Linked DNA regions of Homo sapiens: region 2 is linked to region 1. The links are contacts of gene promoters, found by promoter capture Hi-C in human tissues and cell types (Jung and others, 2019). All regions are on one chromosome and are shown on one strand. The core of a region is centred on a gene start or on the middle of the fragment in contact, and the rest is flanking DNA. Distances in the headings are between cores, read along the strand shown.

The links. The method cuts DNA at HindIII sites, captures the fragments that hold promoters and counts their contacts. A contact is called where the count stands out against the background at its distance.
Region 2: a contact is called between the fragment with the promoter of EPAS1 here and the fragment with the promoter of PRKCE in region 1, in 1 of the 25 tissues and cell types used here (H1 embryonic stem cells).

What each region holds. Positions count from the first base shown.
Region 1 is chr2:45,649,244-45,654,515 of GRCh38, reverse strand. PRKCE (protein kinase C epsilon) reads right to left here and starts at 2,841. Exons shown (of 15, transcript NM_005400.3): 1 at 2,068-2,841. The coding sequence starts at 2,415. It overlaps LOC102724965 (a long non-coding RNA gene), which reads left to right and starts at 3,301. Exons shown (of 2, transcript XR_005647119.2): 1 at 3,301-4,551; 2 at 5,133-5,272. RefSeq lists enhancers at 2,163-2,783, 3,272-3,566 and silencers at 2,942-3,411, 3,582-3,681, 4,312-4,411. The HindIII fragment of the contact is 9,634 bases long and covers 1-5,272 here.
Region 2 is chr2:46,294,839-46,300,110 of GRCh38, reverse strand. EPAS1 (endothelial PAS domain protein 1) reads right to left here and starts at 2,704. Exons shown (of 16, transcript NM_001430.5): 1 at 2,174-2,704. The coding sequence starts at 2,199. RefSeq lists silencers at 2,111-2,440, 2,671-3,250. The HindIII fragment of the contact is 17,489 bases long and covers 1-5,272 here.

The sequences.
Region 1 (5,272 bases), core at 1,592-4,091:
ACAGGCGGTGAGGGCCCTACTTCCAACCCACCTTTGCTTGTCATGTGACCCTCGGTCCCCAACTAGCTTCTCTGGAACTCAATGTCCTCATCTGTAAAACTTGCCTGTGCACTAGATGATCTGGCCTAGGGCCAAATCCAACATGAATTTGAGAACCTTAGAGGATGATAACCAAACAAGTTCCCACTGCATGCTTCACTAGGAGGGATGAAGGTGGGGACAGTGTCCTGAAGCTCCCAGAGTTTGGGGTGTGCCCCAGTGAAGCATCACCAGAGATACAAAGACACTCTCCCTCCAACCAACATCTGTTCTATGGATAAATGCAGACCTGCTGCTCCTCATCCCTGCTCTCTGCCCCACTGTCCAAGCCCCTCATCTGCATACACTGCAAAAGGCTCCCATCTCCTAGCTACCAGCGTCAAGTTTTTTCCACCCCCTTCCTGTCCAAAAACAACAACTCCAAAATCACAGGTTTTCAGAGTCAAGGTCTACCTCTGAAATTAGTTATCCCTTCCACTCCCCCTCTCATATGCACTGCATTCATGAGGAAAGGGCCCAAAGGCCATGCATGGAAAAGAAATGGGGAATGAGTGGGAGCTCTGTTGTGGGGGCTGAAGGAAGCAGAGATGAGGGACATCTGTGAAGTAGAATAGAATGGCATGGAGTTCTCTGGGATTCCATAAAGGTTTGCCTGCTTTCCAAAGTGCAAACCACAAATCTAGAGTTCTACGCATGTGGCTTGTTGGAGCTTCCCTGTGAAACCGTAACCATGGTTTCAGGCAGACTACATCACAGCCATGAGCACAAAAACAACAGGCTCTCTCTTATTTTTCCCTAAAACTCCGTGTCCTTGAAAAAAATATGTAAGGTGATATGCCAAAGTGATCCATGTGCAACCTCTGACCTCTAGGACATTCATGAAGTTAGCTGGTTTTCAATAGAAAGCAATTGCTCTACACCACTTTTGAGGCTTAGATAGCTCTCTCACTTTTTGTGTAGACCAAAGAACCCTGAAAACATATACCTCCAGAGGAACGCTTGTACTTGCTGGAAACATGTAACAAACCTGAAAACACAAAAATCCACATCCTAAATTAATACCTTCCTTCCAAGAAGAGAGAAAAAAAAAAAAAAAAAAAAAAAAACAACCCAAAAACAAACACAAAAAGCAAAATGAAGGTTTGCTTCTCTCTGCTTGTCCAAGTGCCAAGACTGGATGCATTTGGTTTATAGTAGATTGAGACAAGACCTCTTTCCAAATCCTTAATAGTTTAATAATGGAATCAATTAACAACTCAATCTCATACTTAGAAATCGTCTTTTATTGCACAGTATCTTGACAATCAAAACAGAGAAACAATATAACTTTAAATAAGATTCAAAGCACTGACTTCCAATTACCCACAAGCAGAACCCTTCTTAAAATGCAACATTCATTCTGCATGGATGGGCAATGAATTGGACAAAACAAGCTCGACTGATGTTTCTGGGACCATAGAGGAGACATCCTGGAGGAGAACACATTTTTTCTACTTGTATGTCAGAAGATGAGCTAACCACCATGCAAGAGAATAGAAACAAGCCAGCTTCCTCTCGGAGGGAAAAATAAAGCAACTCCTCGCTCGGCTAAGCAGGACAAAGCCAGGACGTGCAAGAAGCCTTCAGTCAAAGGCTCCACGTGCCTTTCCAAGGACGGAGGGACCCACCCACACACAATCACACACAGCCAGCCCACCACGCGCCTGCGGAAGAAAGCCGGGTCCTCGGCCAACCTTCAGCACCAGTGGCCCAGGCTCTCCCAGTTTGCAAACCTCCCGCAGCACCCACCAACTGGAGGGCACAGAGGGAGCAGAGGGCCACATCCTCTTTCCAAGTCTCATCTTCCTCGCCAATGCCTGTTTCTCCCCAACTATGAAGTGAAGTGTACCTCCCCAAGGAAACTGAGACTTACAGGCACACACACCCCAGTCGTCAATAAGTCCCGGAGCCCTACGATCAAGACCAGCGAGTCTTTCCCCGGGACCCCACAACCGGGTTCCCGGAATGACGGGGAGGCGCCGCACTCACCCAGTCCTCGAAGTGGCGGCTCCCGTTCTGCAGCAGCTCCTCAAACTGGATGGTGCAGTTGGCCACGAAGTCGTCGTAGCCTATGGGGGCATCGTGAAAGACAGCCAGCTCGATCTTGCGTCCGTTGCACACATCGGTGACGAACTCGTCGTGCCAGGCCGGGCTGTTGGTCTTCTGCTTGGTGGCCGTTTGGCCGATGCGCGAGTCGTCCACATTGAGGGCAATGTAGGGGTCGAGAAGGAAAGTCTGCGGCCGGGGTCCCACCGCATGGCGCAGCGACCAGGCTGTGGGCTTCAAGCTCACGGCCTCGCAGATTTTGATCTTAAGAAGGCCATTGAACACTACCATGGTCGGGGCGGGGAGTGGGGGCCGGGGTCACTCCGTCTGCCCCGAGGGCAGGAATGAAGAACCGACGGCCCGGCACTCCGAGCCACAGGGACTCTTGGGTCCCCTTTCGCCCCACCCCGCACACTCCCTACACCTTGTGGCGTTGCGCCCTGGCGCGGGCGATTCTCAGCCAGTGCATGTATTTCCTCGCCGGGTTCCTAACGGAAAACAGGGAGGGGGGAGAGCTGGGGGATGTCCGTGTTTGGAGCAAGTCTCTCCCCCCGACCACCAGCTGCACCTCCAGAAGAGAAGACGAGCTGTCGGCTCCGCTGCAAGCCGCGGGGGCTGCCTCGCCGCCTCGCTGGCTCTCCGGCTCCGGACTGCGGGAAAGCGGGCGCCGCGCCCGGCGCTTACCTACCTTTCCGAAACATAATCCCGGGAAATTTCGACTCCGGGAGGGGGATGGGGCGGTGGGACGGGGCGGGGACGAGAACCGGGGGCGCAGATTTCAACCCGGATCCTCTTCGCACACTCAGCGCCTGCCTCTGACCGCGCGGGGCGGGGGGGTGAACGGAGGGATGTTCAGTCTATCCGGAGGGATGCATGTCGAGAGGAAATGGTCCTCCTCGGAGCCAAATTTTTAAAAATCCACAAGCCCCACGGCCAGCCGGGGCCGCCGCCTCCTGGGCGAAGCAGCGCCGCGCCGGAGCCGGCGATCGGGAGGCGCCAGGAGCCCGGAATCTCACATCCGCGCGGGCTCGGAGTCCGGGCGGCCGCCGATCCGGCTCGGGGGCGCAGGCCAGCACCGGGCGGTGCGCAGCGCGGCGGCGGGGCAGGGACTGCGACTCAGCGCGGCCCCACCTCCTGGGCGCCGGCGCCCGCCCTCCGCGCTCCCCGCGTCCCCGCTCTCGGCTGCCGCTCGCTCGCCGCCCGCCAGCCCGCGCTCCCCCGCGGTCTCCTCTCCCTCTGTCGGTGTGCGAGCGAGTCTCCCTCCCTCTAATGCAGGAAATGCGCAAAAGACGTCAGTGTGTGTGAGTGTGTGTGTGTGAGTGTGTGTGTGTGCACGCGCGCGCGCGCACGGCAGTGTTTGGGGAAATAGAAAGTTTTGCCGGTTGGGGGAGCAATACGGAAAAAGTGAGCCGAGGAGACAACGGTGGAGAGCTGGCGAGGCTGCCCGGGGTCGCAGCGGCGGGCGGGTCAGCCGGGGGGCGGGGACCCCGCGCGGGACCCCGGGGTGCGGCGGCGCTGGGCTGGATGCGCGTGCCGGGGGCCGTGGATGGCCATGGATGGGCCCCGCCGGGCCGCGTATCTCTCGGGGACCCTGCGGCCAACACTGTCTTTTAGAGCCGGGGATGGGGGAGTGGAGGGGGCCCTGTTGCCCTAGAGGCCTCGGGACCCTTCCCTTGCCCACCCCCACTCGGGCCGCGGCGGGCAGGAGCAGTCTGCGGAGTTCTGGCCCATCTGTCACTCTGTCCCGGGACGCTGTGATCCACGGCGGTGGGGGAGGGGGAAGGGGGAGGGACAAGCATGGCTCGGGTGAAGTTTTAAACTCTGTTCTTCTCTCTTGCCTTTCTTTGGGGACATTCTCCCCTTTGGGATCTGTCCTGGACTTCGCAGGCTGCGAGAACTTGTTGACAAGTGAAAGCTCGGTAGAGCCCCGGCTTGGTTTGTGGTCTGCTTATTTTTTGCAAAGTGACTGTTCCTGTTTGCGCTGGTCCTTATCGGTGCCCCTTTGGGGGACTTCGGCACTGATCAGCGCGCTGACAGCCGCCGTCCGGGCTGCGGGAAAATGGGGCGCGCCCTCCGGGGGGCGAGTGGCTGTGTCCTTGCTAATTTCCTCCGTAACCTTTAAACTCTCGCTGGAAGCTACCGCCGCGGCTGGTCACGTGAGGAGAGCCCTGGGCTGCTGGGGAAAAATTTCCTCGGCTGGGAGCCGGGACCGGGCCGGCGGCCGGCGAGGGACTGCCCCGCGCCCGAGACTGGGAACCTGGGAGGGCAGGGCCGGAGCGCTGGGCCCCGGGGCGCGGCCCAGCTGGGACACCCGCGAAGACGGCGGCGGTGAAGAGGTCGGCTCCGCTGCCGGGGAGCTGGGGATTATGCAAATGGGGAAAGAAAACCTCCGCCCTCGCCCTTCTGCCAAGTCAAGTCTGGGAATTTGTAGGTATTGTGGTAAGCTGAGTGTTCATCTGGCGGGTCTGGTTAGTGTAAACCAAAATTTAAAACGCGCCTCCCGATCACTTTTTCCTCAGTGGGTAAAGGTTATCATTGCCTGCGGCTTAAAAGCCTAAAAAGGCTTAAAGGCGAGGAAGGAGGCAGTCCCCTGGAAAAACAGGATATCAAGTGCAGCAAACACGTCCCAAAAATGATCCGAAAAGTTCTAGGGCCATCTCCTAAGAACAGGCAAAGCCTTTGCCTGCAACCGCTCTGGAGCTTCCTAATACAGTAATTTCTCGCAGCCTGCCCTGTTGAACAGGGCAGCTGGGTAGAGATGGTGCTAAGATTCAGTCTTCCGTATGATCTAGGTAGCTCCGATGTAAAAAGCCAGGATTTCAATGGTTGTCTTACCCTGTCACTCCCCCAGCTGGAGATACGATATCTTAAAATATGTCCGTTTGACAAAGCACAAGCAGGGGTATCTCATTGCTGTTTAATTTTTATTTCTTTGATTATTACTTTTTTCCCTTTTGCTTCTTCCTTCCACTCTGCTATTCTCATGAAGCCTCTTTCCCCCTTTCCAGGGCATGTGATGGAAGGCAGTGGCAAATATGGCTTGATCTTCTGAAAATGCATTTGGGAAGCAGAGCCAGCACCAAAGTGAGATGAGTGAGATACTTTTCAGAGGCAAAATGTAAAGGGTACCAATAAACGTAATCAAGAT
Region 2 (5,272 bases), core at 1,455-3,954, 650 kb before region 1:
TCTCAAACTGATTAGCCCAATAGGAATTGGACAACCCCTTAAGGGGCTCTAGATGGTGAAGGACACGCTGTTTGCCCTGCCATTCTGCAGCACAAAAATCCAGGCAGGTCGAAGAGGGCGGACACCCTCGCGTGGCCACCAGCCCGGAGCCGCAGCTCACACAGCGGCCTCCAAGGCGTTTCGCAGGCAGTCCCCACAGTGGTTCTTAAAGCGGCCGCTCTCGCCAATAATTGGGAGTCTAATTACGCAACGTTCTTCCCGCTCCCATTCCCGCTTCTTCTCTCTTTCCAACAGTCCGCTAACGAACCAGGTACTGTAGCTGGGTGTGTCGAAATCATTTTTCCCCTGCTCCCAAGTTTCTCGGTATATACGGTACAAAACTGCACAAAACCCGGCGCTAAGGAGCGCAGGAGGAGCTGACACTTCACACATTTGTCAAGATTACTGTCAGGCCCCACCTCGGCGATTGCCACATTCCCGATAGGCATCGCAGTTGTAAAATACACAAGTTCCCTCCCCGGCTCCGGACCCGAAAGCGTCTGCAGGCGCTGTCTATAACTTTGCTTTTCGATGGTTCAGTCATTATTAGCATTATGATTGGTTTTTACAAAACGCACTGGAATCTTAAGAGTCTTTTCCTTGCTCTGCTGCCTTCAAAAGACATGGAACCCCAGGACTGCTCCGAGGGCCCTGGGAATGTGCCGGCTGCAGTCTCAGGGCTCCCTCACTTGTCTTGGGTCTGAGGGCGCGACGGTGACGAGAAAGGGGGGACTACGGCCAGGAAAGGGGAGCAGGGCCCAATCCCCTCCCCTAGCGATCCCGCAGTGAAGGGCCCGGGCGCCGAGCCAGGACAGGCGCGATTCGCTCCCGTTTATCAAATCCTTATCGGTGCCCCGAGGTGGGAACCGCTGCTTTCGACCGGAGGATACACGGTTTCTGGCTCCAGTCCCGTAGTGGAAGTTGGAACAAGAGCAAATCAACCTCGGCAGTGAGCCCTCCCGGCCAGTCACCTCCCTCCCTTAGCGAGTCGGTCCTCCTCATCCTCGCACCTCTATACCGCCGCTCCGCCGCTGGTTTCCCGCGGCTCAGGCGGTTCAGCCGGCCGCGCGTTGGATTCCAGCTTCCCGCAGCATAGCCTCGCCAAGCCGCGGCCAAGCGCGGGGCTGGAAGCTCCAGGCCACTGGGGCCGCACGGGTGGAGACAGGAGGAGAAAGGGGACAGGCGGCGAGCCGCACACATTTGCAGAAGTTGAGGCCCTGCCTGCTTCTGCGCGGCCGCGCAGAGGGCTCGAACCCTCGCTCGGGTAGCGCCGGGCCCGGCTGGACTGGGAGCGGCCGGGAGAGGGCGAGAGGGCAGCAAGAAATGGCCAGAGTTGCCTCTCACCCAGTGCCGAGAGGCTCGCGAGGGCAGGCGGGCAGATCGTGGCTGCCCTTCTCTGTCCTCTTCGGAGACAGACACCCGGACCTGCCAGGGACATCCAGTGTTGCCGTCCGCTTCCTACACACCGAACCATCTGCCCCCGCAGGGCAATCCAGGTCACTCACTACCTACTCTCCCCAGAGTCAAGGTGCGGCACGAGGAAGTGGGTTCTCCAACCTTCGGTGGGGTCTGGAGCCCGGCAGCGGGGCGCTCTGAAGGGTCCTGGCTCCTCGGTAGGATCGTGTCCCTGAGCCGCTCTCCGCCTCCCGCCCCCCTTTGCCCACTTGGGCCGCGGCGCGGGCACAGGAGCGCATTTGGAAGGACTCCGCGAATCCAGAGAAAAATAGAGACGTGGATGCTGCCCCAAAATGAGAGACCAGAGAAAGTCGAGGACATGCACCCACAAACATTTCCAAGCGCCGGTGGCCACGGTAATCTGCTGCGGGGCGGCTGGGAGATTTTCAAAGGCACCGCGGAAGCACCTCCGACCTCCAGGCCATCTCCCTCGGCCTCCTGGCCTCGCCGTGCGCGCAAATCCCCGACTCCTCCGAGCCGCAGAAGTCTCCACTGCAAAGCTGCTGATCCGCGCCCCCAAACCGGGCACATGCTCTCCCCCTCACAGCCCTCCAAACCGAGCCTCGAGCTCCGAAGACCTCTCAGCACTCTTCTCCCAACCACTCTCGGTCGCGCCTGCCCCGCGCAGCCCGGCCCTGGCCTCGGACCGGCCCCCTGATCGGCCCGGACGCCCGCTTACCTTTTCTTCTCCTTGTCAGCTGTCATTGTCGCTGTGGCCCTTTGAGACGTTCAGACGCCGAGCACCTGGGCTCCCTGGCGGGTGGGGGGCTGTGGCCCTCGTCCGCTCCCCGCGGCCCGGGCGGGTGGTGAAGGTCCGAGGTGCGCGCAGGTCCCGAGCGCCCCGCGCAGTCAGGTGGAAGGTGGCGCGCGGCGGGCTAGGTGCGGGGGCGGGGGTGGAGAAAGGTGACTGGGAGGAACCTGCGCGCGGAGGCGGGGTCCGGGGAAGGAGTGGGTGGAGGCTGTCAGACCCGAAAAGAGGACGGAGAGAAGGGAACCCAAGTTCCTTTTTCCCTGGAAAAGGAGTCACTTTTCTGAGTTTTCAAAGAAAAAAAAAAGTGGCTCGAATGCTGGGAGTCGGAAGGAGTCGGAGGCCGGGCTGAGCTGACCATACAGTCTCAGGACACTGCCGAGGATTGTACGGCCGCCTCAGGAGCGCTGGGGCGGAAGCGCAGCGGGCACCGGACCCGTGTGGCGGTCCGCTCGCGAGTGTAAAGCTCCCGCGGCCGGCAGCCCACTTTAAAAACTCCGTCGGCCGGCTTGGGGCGGGCACGGGGCGGGCGCGGAGGGCGGGGGGCGGGCACCGGCGCGGGTGTGTGGGCGGGCACGCGCCGGCAGGCCCCGCCCGCGCCGAGCTCCGGGCGGCTCACTGCGTCCCGGCCAATGGGGACGCGCGGCCGCAGCCTCTGCCCTGACCCTGGCCCGCCTCCTGCCCCCGCGCTGCGCCCCGCCTCCTGCCTCCGCACTTCGAGGACTTGTTTATGAGGTCGTCTGGGCGGCGGGTAGCGGGGTGGGACTCCGCGTCGGGGAGAGGCAGCCTGCGCAGGGCCGAGGGGCGGCCGGGAGCCGGGCTCCGGGATTGCTGCGGGGGACGGCAGTTGCGCCACAGCGTCGGTGTCCTCGTACCGGCGCCGTGCCCTTGGAACGAGGGCAGGACCGCGGGCAGCGCCGGGCCAGCGCGGAGCCCCTCCACGCTGCTGCGCTCCTGCGTCCCTGGCCCTCGGGCCAGGTGGGGATAATTTCTCGGCCCCCAGCGGCTGCGTTTCGGGCGTGGGCGATGCGCCCTTTTCGGTGGGACGCAGCTGACTTGACCGTCTGGGAGAAGCAGTGCAAGGAAATTGATCTAGGGCTGCGCCTACTCTTCCTTCCCTCTCCCAGCAGGGTGGTTGCTTACCGGCTTGTGCCAGGCGGTTTGGTTTTGGCGGGGATGCGGCAGAGGAGGCCCTTTGAGCCGCCCGAGGCCGGGGCGAGTTCAGAATTGGAGAAGTCAGTCTGGTTCCCCAGTGTGATCTTGGAGTGACAAGAGTTGGCCATGTGCCCTCAAGTCACTGCATCTCAGGCCTGCCCTCTCTGCCGCCAGGGTCGATGGAAGTCCTGGGAAACCCAAAGGCTACAGGTGTTGGAAATTTGTAGATTTAAGGGCTCACACAGGCAACGGTTAGCGCTCAGGGATTTTCCAGCGGCGCTTTTGACGCTGCCTTCCATCTCCGGGCCCAGTGCTCCCCTGCCCCGCGCTGAGCTGTCTCCCACTCGCTACCGGCGATGGGGAAGGGACATCTGGGGAGAGGACAGGGGACGCCCTTAGTTTTTGAAGGCTGTGGAAGGACCCATGAGTTTCACAGGTGTAACTTGAAGTTGGAAAGCGAGGGCCAAAGAACTGGTCTATATCTCTCCCTTTAGCCTCTTGCCACATTTTATACTAGAACGATCTACAGAAGCGATTTGAAGAGAAGGGTAGGTTTCAGCGCCATAATAAAAATGAACACGTGTTTTCCCCGTGTACACAGAAAGGGTTGGGGGAGATACTTTTCAGGAGCCTGGAGAAGGCGAAGTGGGGAGAGGGCAAAAACTGACGAAGAATTGGGAAATACTTTTTTTTTTTTTTTGAGACTGAGTCCCACTCTGTCGCCCAGGCTGGAGTGCTGTGGCCCCATCTCGACTCACTGCAACCTCCGCTTCCCGCGATTCTTGTGGCTCAGCCTCCGGAGTAACTGGAATTAAAGGCGCCCACCACCACCCTCAGCTAATTTTTGTATTTTTAGTAGAGACGGGAGTTTTACCATGTTGGCCAGGCTGGTCTCAAACTCCTGACCTCAAGTGATCTGCCCAACTTGGCCTCTCAAAGTATTGGGATTACAGGCGTGAGTCACTGTGCCCGGCCGGGAAGTAGACGTATTTTGTCATTTTCTCAGATCTCGGGGCACGGAGCACCTATACAGGTTGATAGTCAACGAATTCAAAGATTGCAAATCTCTCTCTAGCGAACTATTTCATGGGGCTGGTGGGTTTCAGGAACGGGGTGATTTGGTACTGGGCTTCTCCAGCCAGCCATTTCTAGTGGACACATTTATGTATTTTAATGAGTTCAAATTGGTAGATAGTTCTCCCTTAACCATAGGCTTATTTCCCTCACTTGGGACTAGAGTGCGGGAAAAGGGCACCTTGGTGGCTTCCAGGTGCCTACAGTAGTTCACCACAACAGCCTCTGAGTCCTGGACTGTGCTTGACAGATCGAGGCAACACCTCCAACCCATAGAGAACATAGCCTTTTAGATCTTGTTTTTAAAGAGGAAAGGCAAGGAGGGGTCACTCAAGACCACATCAACCTAAGAAGACATGGACACATGGGAGGAACAGCACAGACTGGGGCGTGTCAGAGGGTGAGGGGTGGGAGGAGGGAGAGCATCAGGAACAATAGCTAACGGATGCTGGGCTTAATACCTAGGTGATGGGATGATCTGTGCAGTGGACCACCATGGTACACATTTACCTATGTAACAAACCTGCACATCCTGCACATGTACCCCTGAGCTTAAATGTTAGAAATTCCATCAACCATGTTATATAGCTCCTTCCTCTTGGCCAGACTGCACCCTATAAGTGAAGGATCCCCAGGCTAACACAAACAGCTGGCATTGAGTCTGGGATTTTTTTTTTTTCTTTAGACAATCTCACTCTGTTGCGCAGGTTGGAGCGGAGTGGCACGATCTTGGCGCACTGCAACCTCCACGTCCCGGGTTCAAGCTATTCCCCTGCCTCAGCCTCCCAAGTAGCTAGGACT